Regions from separate parts of the Homo sapiens genome. Here region 2 is linked to region 1. The links are contacts of gene promoters, found by promoter capture Hi-C in human tissues and cell types (Jung and others, 2019). All regions are on one chromosome and are shown on one strand. Each heading gives the region's core, a stretch centred on a gene start or on the middle of the fragment in contact. The rest is flanking DNA. Distances are from core to core; before and after follow the strand shown.

Evidence for each region. The method cuts DNA at HindIII sites, captures the fragments that hold promoters and counts their contacts. A contact is called where the count stands out against the background at its distance.
Region 2: a contact is called between a fragment that was not itself captured here and the fragment with the promoter of NKAIN3 in region 1, in 1 of the 25 tissues and cell types used here (dorsolateral prefrontal cortex).

What each region holds. Positions count from the first base shown.
Region 1 is chr8:62,246,275-62,252,017 of GRCh38, forward strand. It overlaps NKAIN3 (sodium/potassium transporting ATPase interacting 3), which reads left to right and starts at 2,580. Exons shown (of 7, transcript NM_001304533.3): 1 at 2,580-2,853. The coding sequence starts at 2,800. It overlaps LOC124901952 (a long non-coding RNA gene), which reads right to left. Exons shown (of 2, transcript XR_007060932.1): 1 at 3,183-5,743. The HindIII fragment of the contact is 6,824 bases long and covers 1-4,194 here.
Region 2 is chr8:63,010,112-63,015,606 of GRCh38, forward strand. It overlaps LOC107986946 (a long non-coding RNA gene), which reads left to right. Exons shown (of 4, transcript XR_001745930.2): 2 at 1,876-2,058; 3 at 2,847-2,983; 4 at 4,048-4,299. It overlaps GGH (gamma-glutamyl hydrolase), which reads right to left. Exons shown (of 9, transcript NM_003878.3): 9 at 4,968-5,342. The coding sequence ends at 5,221. Among named protein-coding and RNA genes, the nearest start is that of GGH, 26 kb to the right of the region's middle. RefSeq lists an enhancer at 1-340 and a silencer at 1-45. The HindIII fragment of the contact is 3,957 bases long and covers 240-4,196 here.

The DNA of each region.
Region 1 (5,743 bases), core at 1,330-3,829:
GAGAATAAGAGATTGCAGAGAAAAATGAAGGTAGCTTCACACAATTTCTAGACTTCTTATTAGCATTGTGTTATCTTTGTTTCTTATTTAAATGCATTTAGTACAAATGCATTTTTCAACATCTTAAATTACACAAGGAAGAAACTCCAATTTGAGGCTATCAGTAAAGGCAGCAATGGGAAAGGGAGAGGTACAAGGGACCCTCCTGGTCTCCTAAAATCATACCACATGGGTGGTACTAACTCTGAATGTTAGATCAATGTACATTATTACACCTGCTTATGAGGGAACAGTTAGCTTCCCTGTGGGTAACTGCTATTTGTGTCCCAAGTTTCAGAGGCAGCACAGGGAATATGTAAATCCAGGAGCTCTAGAGTCAAATTCCCTGGCTTTGTATTCCTCTTCCTGGTTTAGCAGCCAGGGGAGCCTCTCCTCCTGTTTCCCTATCTTTTCAGTGATGATGCTCACAGCACCCACCCCAATGAGGTTGCAGTGATGATTAAATGAGTGAACACACATAAAGTACTTAGATGGGTGTATGGCACCTGGCAAGGACCCAGTGCAAGTTAGCTGCTAATATGGTACTTCCTAAATAAATAAAATCATGACAAAGTATACTGGGGTAAACATATGTAATTTGGAGAGAAGGAAGTGTCAGTATTTTTATTACCATCATTCATCACAGTCTCTGGAGATGAAAAGGTTACAACAATTTCTGGAAGTTATAGATAGAAGACTTGTTCATGTCCTCTCACTTTTCAGCTGCTTCCTACAGCTTTTAGAGGGGTCAATGGCCTGAGATGTTCTGCAATGTCCTTTTCTACATGCTAAACTACTTATTTGTCAGTGTTCATTTTTTTCTATTGTTTTCATCCATAAAGAATGATGACGAGTACGTGGATTGTGCATAAAGGCAGCGTGCTCACATGATCCTTGATCACTGATGTCTTAACGCTTGAATTAAAAAAGGAGGAGGAGTTCTGACTGGACTTCTCCTGTCTCCATGATAATATCAGAGGTGGAATGTAAACAATGAATGTTCTTGACCCTTTTAATAACCCAAATCCTGAGGTTATTCATGTGTCCCTACTAGAATTTCAAAGATGTGCAGACTTCCTTGGGAATGATAACCGTCTTAAATTATAAACATAGATCCTGAAGAAACGTTTCAGAAAGGATAAAAATAAAAACAGGACTGCTTTTAACGCCTGAACTAACGGCTTGAGCAGTTTCCATGTCTGGAGTGGAAGTATTAAAAACGCAAAGATGTCTTGCCTTTTCTTACCAACCTACCGCCAAGAACCCAGGAGGGCAGCAGTGGGCTAGAAACAGGGTTTCTGTGCCAAATTCTGAAAACAGCCTTTTCTGAGATAATTGGCCTGCAGGCTTGTTCCCTGTTCTGGTGTGCTTTTGAGCTCCTTGCGCAGTTCCACCAGGTACAACAAATGCGCCCATAAAATCTGTCTTTGAGCCCTGATGAAATTTCATCCTCTGCAGAACGCCTCCGCTCTGTTTTATTAGGTGGGAGAGAGCAGGAGAGTTTCCACAGGATTCAGAGAGAGTTTGTCCGTATCTTAACTATCCGAGATCTTCTTTCCAAATCCTTCTCAATTTATTTCTGTGAAGATATATTTATACCTATTCCGGAAACCTTCTCCATTTCTAGAAAAAGCTACGCATCTTCTTCTTCCTCGACTTCTCTTTTCTCCCTCCCGGTGAGGATTTCAAAGGGTATGTGAGAAAAGAACCTTAAGCCAGGTCTCCCCGCGGCGTCCTGGCTAGTCCCGGCGCCCTGGGCGGGTGCATCGCTCCGCCGCAGCGCCCCTTGCCACCCAACTCTGTCCAACTTTCCCTTTCAGACTCCAGCAGGGGCGCCCTCCAGGCAACCGGCTGTGGCGGGCAGAAGCAAGCTCGGATGGGAGACCCCCGAGCTGCGTGCCCAGCGCCGGCTCAACAGACTTGCCCGCGCAGCGCCCGCGGGCCCCCTCGCATCCGGGCAGGTTCCGGAGCTGGGCCTTGCGCTCCCCGGCGCCCGCCCACCCTGGGTGTCTCGCGTCCCGGCCCTTCCTCCCCGGAACCCAAGCTAACCCAACTCCCATCCTCGCCACCTCTGGGGCAGCTCAACTAAGCCGTGTCCCCTCCCTTGCAAACGCGTCCGACCACCCTCCCAACCCCCAGCACAACCCTCAGCAAGAAAGCCCAGCTGGGTCTACCCAGTTACACCGGTCAACGAGGGTCTCCATCGCCGCCGGCCGCCCTAATTCACGCTCATTCATATTCATTCTCTTTTCTCTCTGTCCCTCTTCCTTTCTCCCCAAAGACTCTTAACTAGACAGGCCGATCCTCCCCAGCGGCACTCCCTTTCATTCTTCCCTTCCCACCACACACACACACACACACACACACCCGGACCCAGACAGCCCACTCCACTTTCCAGACGCCCACCTCCTACATACTCCCCTCCCCTAAACAGACATTCACCCACTCGCCATCTGTAGCCTCCTTCCAACCCCCCGCCCCGCCCGCCTGGCTCCCCCTCCCCAAGAAACAGACCTGCACAGTGGGACGCAGGGACCCCCGCCAGACGCTCGGGTCGTGCGCACCGCACTGACCTCGGCCCGCCCCGCCGGGAAACTAACAAAGGCGGGCGCGAGCCCCGAGCCCTGGAGCCGCGAGCGGCGGCCGCGGGGCCGAGGAGCCTGGGCCGGGCCGGGCGGGGACTACTCCGGAGTCAGGAGGCAGCAGCGGCGGAGGACGAGGATCTCTGGCAGTCAGCGCCGCTCGGACGCCGCCGGCACCATGGGCTGCTGCACCGGACGCTGCTCGCTCATCTGCCTCTGCGCGCTGCAGTTGGTGAGTGCCCCGAGGGCCCCTGCCCCAGGACAGGTCCCTGCTCCAGGACCGGCCTCTGCGACTCCCTCTGCGGTTCCGCAGCTCCCGGCAAGGGGCGAACGGGTGAACAGGGCGCTCCGCCCGCCTCCCACCCTCCCCACCGCCTGGCTGGGCTCGCACTGCTCTCCAGCCGCGGGCACTCGCCAGGTCGCCCCTGCCCTGCAGGAGGGCGCGGTCTCACCCCCGGTCCCATGCGCTGGGGTTCGCCGCGCTCCCGCCGGGCGTCGCCACGCGGTCCAGGGGCCAGGAGCCGGCGGAGTGAGGGATTTTCCCGCCCCTTGATCCGATACCTGGTTTAGCACCCTCCGCGTTCGTGCTGAAGTTACACGGGGACTTGCGGGCTCTTTCTTCTTAGGATGATTTCCAGGAATGTTGCTTAATTACACTGTGTGGGAATGCCCAGGTTCTGAGGAGACAGAAGCTGCCTCAACTCTGTTAGTGAAGAGTGAGGTGGTTCTAACCTTAAGCAGGTTGAAAAGTGATGGTTAAGGAGTCTGGGACCTCCAGGAAGGAGATCAGGCTGTGTGCTTCAGCCCCTGCCCTTCCAGTTCCGCTTTGGATTTTGTTGAAATGTTGCATGTTCAGGCGGCGACAGACTGACAGCTGTCATCAAGGAGAGAACAGAGTGAACCGGCTCCATTGGCGCGGTGCCTTGCAGAGGGAGTGTGTGTAATGGGAAGTTAGAAACTAGAGTGGGGAAAAAAGGCCCTTTCAGAGCAGAGCAAATGCTCCTCTTAATCCCTTTGGATCCTGGACTGGCTCTGTGGTCTATTCCATGGTCACTTGAGGTCAAGGCCACAGACCTTTTGAGTCAGACTTTTGTGTGTGAGAGATTAATAGACATCTCCCTTGCGTTATACTTCAGACAGATTCTGAGTGCTCTGCCAAGCTTTCTTCCAAGCATTGTATTTTTTTTCGAGTCACAAATATAAACTAGTATATTTTGACAAGTGAGAGGAAAAAGCTTGCAATGAACTTTACTTAGTAATGTCATCCCTTGCAAGACTTATTAACTGAGGGATAAAATCGTGCTTTTTAGTAGTTAGTCCTTGTTTACATGAAGGCTTTAGAATGTTTTCACTTTTCTCTTGCCTCAGTGTTCCAGTCTCCCATGAAAACCTCACTTTGGATGTGCCCTTCATTGTTCACATAATGCATGCATAATTTATGTATTCGTAGGTTTGAAATCAGTGACTTTTTAAGCCTATTGGATAGTGCCTTCTGTCTTGTGAAATACTTGAATCAAACATATTTTATAGTTTCTTGAAAAAAATTTTAAAAATTTAAAACAATATGAATGTTTTCTTTCACTAAGAAAAGAAGGCAGGAGCTTGATTTGTATTTTGGTTTTCAGAAATGGACATGGCTTATAAGTTGGAAAAACTGACTAAACATTGAGTCAACCCTTGATTCAATGTAAGATTATAGATAGGCATGCTGGATTGCATAATCTATAATGCCTAATTTCTATTTTACATGGAAATAACAAGTAAGGTTTTTATGTAGCAGATTTATCAATGCAATTATGATTTTCTTAACAGGCATTGTGATGATAATGTTTTTGAGATTTCATCCATCAGCCAAGCATGCCCCTTCTTTCCACTTTCTTAGTTGATACAAATGCAACTTATTTGTCAAAGCTTATCTTAAAATTCCATTTTTTAATGAAGTCTTCCTTGGTGCTCCAGGTAAAATCCCTTATATTCCTATAATCTCATAGCACTTCGCTTTTTCCTCTGTTATAAAACATTTGATACACTCTTAAATAATTTTAAGTTATTTACACATATTTCTCACCACTAGATTGTAAGCAACTTGAGGGTAGGGACCATAGTACTAGTGATCTTTACAAACTCTGCAAGTTCTTAGAGCTCATATTAGGAGCTGAAACATATTTGCTGAATTTTTGATAATACATAACATTTGCAATCCATACAGGACTTTGACATAAACATTTCTTTTGACTTTTAAAACTATCCTGTGAGGTAGATACTCATTTCATTTGTTTGCAGGTGAGGAAGTTGATATTCATAAACAGTTTTTCCATAATCAAGAGTTTTTGGATGGTAGAAATATTGGGGTGATGGTAAGCATTTAACAACTGGATTGTAAACAAAACAAATGTATATATTACATTATAATAGCATACAAGATAATCTTCTCTATGTAAAAGATGTGTAGCTCTCTGTTGACAAATGATAGCAATAGTAAAATATGTAATAGTCTTTAGTGTGAATTCCATACAGCCATTCAATTTTGGCAGAATCTTTTTGCTGAGTTTGAAAAACTCTTGGTTTTATAAATCTGACATGAATGCTGGTGAATATTTTTGTATGCTTTAAGAAAAAAGAGGAAAGTGAAAATTTGAAGAAAATATTCGAACTTTACTTCATCAATTACATGAAAAGATTCTTGGCTGAATTGGATAATAGTTTTTAAATACTTAAAAATTATTTCCTCAGTTTCTTTCATAGCTATTGACAATGTAATGTCTATAGACATGACACACTTTTAGGTTTAATATGCATTATTTAAAATATTTCTCCATTATTTAAAAAGCCTAGACAATCAACAAAACAGTAAGCAACCGCTGATTTGTGGGGTTTGCCAAATTCTTTGGTGTAAATACTCCCATCACGACCAATTTCAAGTATACTTTATATAGCATTTCCGTCATATACATAAGATAGGCCTAACCTCAAAAGCATTGGTAAAGTAAAACACAGCAAAATAATTAGGAAGGAATAACTGTTAACTATTCAGTACCTTGGTTTTTAGTAGGATTTCTTTAAATTTAAGTTTGCATAATTTAATTTTTAATAATGGCTGTATTTAACAACTGGCTCACAAA
Region 2 (5,495 bases), core at 968-3,467, 760 kb after region 1:
ATCCTAGCCTGCTGAGCTTAGTCACTCGGCAGGGCAATTCAACCCTCCCAGAGGGTAAAGACCCAGCAGCTCAGGCGGCCCTGCAGCAATGAGGAAACGTGCTTTTGATCTAGTTAAGTAAAAGGAGCAGAACACAAACTGTATTTGCAACTGTGTGAAAATAGGCCAAGGGGAAATAACAAAAGGACTTCCTTAATTCAATTTTTTATTATCATCGTTACATTGTTATTGTTCTGAAGTCTATTCTAAGTTGAAATCTTGTTTTATGTGGCTATTTTCCCTCAAAACTGGGGTCAATCATTATATTTAATTATACTAACAGATTCGCATACATTATTTGTTAGCTCCTTTGTCCTTGGGTAGAGACGAGCAAAGAGGAACCAAGTAATTTAGATTCTTTTAACTAGAGAAGAAAAAAATGCAAATTCCCATCCTCACTTCATTTTACAAAACTGAAAGAGAAAGGATAGTTTTAACTATTGGCAAAGTAAAATTGCTCTTCTAGCTGCTCAAGTTGAACACTTATTGTACAAATTATTAATTTTATTAAAAGTGTATGAAATAATTTTTTAGATTATCAGAGACTATAAAATAAAAAGCATCTTTTCTCAGTTTAAAAACGAAGGACAATTTTAAAGGACTCAAAGTATGCAGAATATAAATAGAAGCTTTCATGGCTAATGTTACACAGTTAGTAAATGGCACACATAAAACATGACCCTTGGCATCCTGACTTCTGGTGCACCTGTCCACTCTTCTCCACTGGGAAGCTGGATGGAAGGTATGACATACAAACTGGTTAAGAAAGAATTGCAATTCTTAGTTTGTGAACAGTTCATTGTAATAATCCAGGAGTGACGTGACTGGTCTAAAACAAATACTATGTAAGCTTCATTAATGAAAATACAGTCTTCCCACTACCCAGTGTGATCATCTAAATTCTCTTCCATTCTGAGATTCTCTAATTCCCTCAAAACCTTGAGTTTCTCCCTGAAAAACTTCTGGGATTAACTTGAATGCTGAACTATAGCAAAAGATGTTACAGTGTTATTGTAAAATTCTAAAGGGATCTATGCTATGAAACAAACTGGCTTTAAATTAAGATTATGAGAAATTATAACAAATGTCAGAGAACTGGAAGCCTAAAAGCATGCCAAATTTATGCAAAAAGGAACAAGTTCAACAAGAAAGCTAATGATTAGAAACTTTCCCTTGAATTTGGAGGGGAAACCATGACAAGATTTAGAGTACATTATGTTGAGAAACCTTATGCTATAGAAAAAGAAAAATGCAAACCAAGTTCATGTTCATTTGAAGCACTTCTCCTGCCCACATCCTTAGAAATGACCAAGGAATGCTTGATTAATTTGGTACCTTCCCTGCAAGCTTTCCCAGAAGCATCTCTCATTATATGAGGTGTTGATTCTTTCTTCACCCACCCAAAGAAACACTCTGCTAGCCTAGATTTTGGCCAGTTAAGCATCAGGGGAAAGAAAATTGGAATTGTATGTACAATCTACAGATTTATATACATGATAGCACCTGGCCCTTAATAGATGCTTAAAAGTGTTTTTATCGAGTCATCAGGACCTCCTCATAGATCAGAATGGAAAATATCCAGTATTAGGTGTAAGTCTATGTTTATGTTTATATTTAAATAAATATATATTTAAATAAATTAAATACAATATTTAATAAATATAATTTACTGGTAAATATTCCTTAGGTTTCTAACAATTTCCTGAAATCTATTATTCTAAATAATTGAACGCAAACACAACCAGCTAAACATTAGGTTAGCTTGTTCTCTCCTGACATCTAGTGTTTCCAATACATTACTGCAAAACACCAGTTTTTCTTTTTTAATGTTTACAGGTTTATTATAAAGGACTTACAAAGGACAAAGACGAAGAGACACATAGGGCAAGGTACCAGGGAAGGGGCACAGAGCTTCCATGCCCTCCCTGGGCGCATCACTCTACAGGAACCTCCCTGTGTTCAGCTATCCAGAAGCTCTCCAAACTCCATCCTCTTGGGCTTTAATGGAAGCTTCGCAAGGTCAGCATTCCTTCCCCCAGGGTATGCGGTGGGGCCCTCTCTGGAGAACCCCAGTTAATTTTTAAATATTAAAATAAAAATGCTGGCCAGGCACAGTGACTCACACCTGTAATCCCAGCACTTTAGGAGGCTGAGGCAGGGGGATCACTTGAAGTCAGGAATTCAAGACCAGTCTGACCAGCACGGTGAAACCCCATCTCTACTAAAAATACAAAATTTAGCCAGCTGTGGTGGTGCGTGCCTGTAATCCCAGCTGCTTGGGAGGCTGAGGCAGGAGAGTCATCTGAATCCTGGAGACAGATGTTGCAGTGAGCTGAGATTGCACCACTGCACTTCATCCAGCCTGGGGTGACAGAACGAGACTCCGTTTCAAAAAAATAAAAGAATGAAAATGCTATGTGGAACAAAAATTGTATTCATTTTTGAAACAAGTTTGTTTAAATGAAATGAAATCCCAAGCAAACAACAAAGCTGTTTCTGAGGAGTGAAAGACCTTTTTTGCTTAATTCTTCCCATAGGAGAAAATTCTTTGAAATATTTTCTTGCAATTCGATAAAAATGGAAAGACCCAGCATGTAGGTAGGGCTGCTTGATTATTGCAATGGAGGGAGGGAAGATGGGGAAGCACATGCAGCCCTTCTGTGCACCAGGCTCCAGGTGTGAGGACTCTCATAGCACCATTTGTGCAACGACGGATTCGGCCTACTGACAAGGTTTTGAGGATTTCCCTACTCTGCTATGTGGAAATGGAGACACTCAACATCTCCTTATAAAATATCTTGTGCCAGCCCTCAAGATACATGAAGCTGTGGGCCCTCAGAAACATCTGGCTCAGCAGAAATGACTGCAGGGTCTGCCTCTGAAGCCCAGCGTTTCTACTCCATTTGGGATATTCCACACAGGAAGAGAATTGGAAATGCTGGAGGTAAGAGCTTTGGCAATCGCTCTCCAAAAACCCTTGGAAACTCAAGTCAGCTTTGGCTGGGGAAGGGTACACATTAGCTATCTCTTCCATACCCACCCAGTCCTTCCTGTTTCTGTTCATTCTTCTTATTCTTTCTAATCCACACCTGCTCCCTCAGTCACACTTTCAGCCTCTGCCCTCTCCTGCTGACAGAGGGCTGTGATCTCCCCTCCTCCCCAGGCTCCCCACGTCAGGCCGTCCTCCAGGAGTGGCTATCCATCTCTAAGGGCTTTCCGGACTGCTGCCCAGCAACTTCAACAGGCACCTCTAATCGACGACCTCTCCTGCCTCCGCTGGTGTAGGGACGCCAGGCTTCTGAACAGCACTGCTCTCCTCATTTGCCTTCAAGCTGGCCTATCTTTCCTGCTGGTGGTGGTGGGCAGAGGCAAGGGTGTGGTCAGCTTTGAAAGAGATTCCATTCTTGGAATAAAGTGATCTAGCAAACAAAGTCTTCAAAAAAAAAATACATGAGGGGAAAAACAATAAGCTGAACATGAGCAGAAAACACATTTTCTTGCATTTGTGGTCATCTTCTATGAAGCACAGTAAGAATCTTTGGAAGCCAGTCTTCAGGGCAAAAGGATGGAGGATGCAGCATCATGAGTATCCAGAGAGTCAGGATGAAGTTGTTCTTGGGAACTGCAGAGACAAGCAGTTCTATATGGTTTCAACACAAATGGGCTAGGAAGAACCCTGGCACCGTGAGCAATAATAGTGTCACTACCTTTTTCTAGAGGTGGGAGACAAAAACTTAGCCAGACACATTCAACAGTAAGACTCAACAAAGAATCTTCATATTCATGGACAGAAACTAAATCTGCCACATTTCTAGTAAGGTTCTTTCTTGGTTAATTAAATGTATTAATCTCTTCCAATTTCTATGTGCTATTTGTCCTCATTCCCCAAAGATTATGGCTTAGCTCAGTGTCTGCAGGTGATTGTTCTTCTCTTGTTGCAGGTAAAATCATCCACGATGCCCTCCAATATCATTCCCAATCAGTTTCCTGTTTCCCCTTCTCTTGCAGAAGCTCTGGAAGCCCACAGAGAACAGATGCATAAACACCATTTACCAGACACAGCTCAGCAAACCCTCTCTCTCTTCCTTCCAGCAGCTTGGTTGTCCTCAAGGAGTTCCTAAATTTCATACTTCTGAGGGTTATATGGGATGGTGAGGGGTGGAGGAGAGTAGCACGGATTGAAAAATACATTAATGTTGGCTGGGCACAGTGGCTCACACCTGTAATCCCAGCGCTTTGGGAGGCCGAGGCTGGTAGATCACCTGAGGTCAGGAGTTTGAGACCAGCCTGGCCAACATGGCGAAACCCCATCTCTACTAAAAATACAAAATTTAGCTGGGTGTGATGGCACATGCTTGTAATCCCAGCTACTCAGGAGGCTGAGGCAGGAGAATCGCTTGAACCCAGGAAGCGGAGGTTGCAGTGAGCTGAGATTGCAGCATTGCACTCCAGCCTGGGCAACAAGAGAGATGCTCCATCTTAAAAAAAAAAAGAAAAATACATTAAAGTGTACCAAAATAAATATATGACAGCTTTTAAATTATTTTCCATGGGAAAAAAACTTATAATTAGTGACAATTACTTACTGAGGGCCTGCTGGGCTAGACATTATGGACATTGTGAAAGATAAAAAGTTCAAGACACAGACTCTGTTTTCAGGATGTGTACGCTTTAAATATGAAGTTAACACAGGGCAGAAAAGTAGATACACACATGCACACACATACCTATACACACATACCTACACACACACACACACACACACACACACACAAATACTCCTCAGACCCAAAGGACGGAGACATCACAATGAACAAGATGAACAATTGGTAGGATTTTAAAAGACTATTTTCTTTTTCAGCAAGGAGGATGGAGTGGGCAGGTAGGGGATGGTATTTATTTCCCAAGCAAATCAATTAGAAAAAATATTTGTATTTCAGTAAATTTATTTTTTTCAATCTTCAGATATAAGAAGGCTTTTCCATGAAAAACACTCTATTTATGTCTCACTATTTAATTATCTAATGTTATATAAATAGTCACATACAGAATGAAGAATCAGAGCCAGGCACATTATAGAAAAGAATCTGTGACTTCCTAATCTTGCCATGAGTAGCAAGTTATTCTAACAGTTTAATCATGGAATTATTCAAATTTGCTCTGTTAACAAATTGAAGACTTTCAATCAAATATGTAACATTGCTGAAATGAAGAAATATTTCCAGTATAAATTGGACTGAACTGATAAATCAATGCTTTCTCCTCTTCAGATTCAGATTTAAAATGATGGTTGTTTTTCCGAGCTGCAAGAAAAAAAGTTAATTTTTAAAAAGATCAGATGACAAAATCTTCAAGAGACTATTTTATAATATTTCTTCCTGCAATCAGCATTATTAAGTGGGAAAATATCAACAAGAAGAGAAATGCGACTGCTCTTCCTATAGAACAGCCATCTT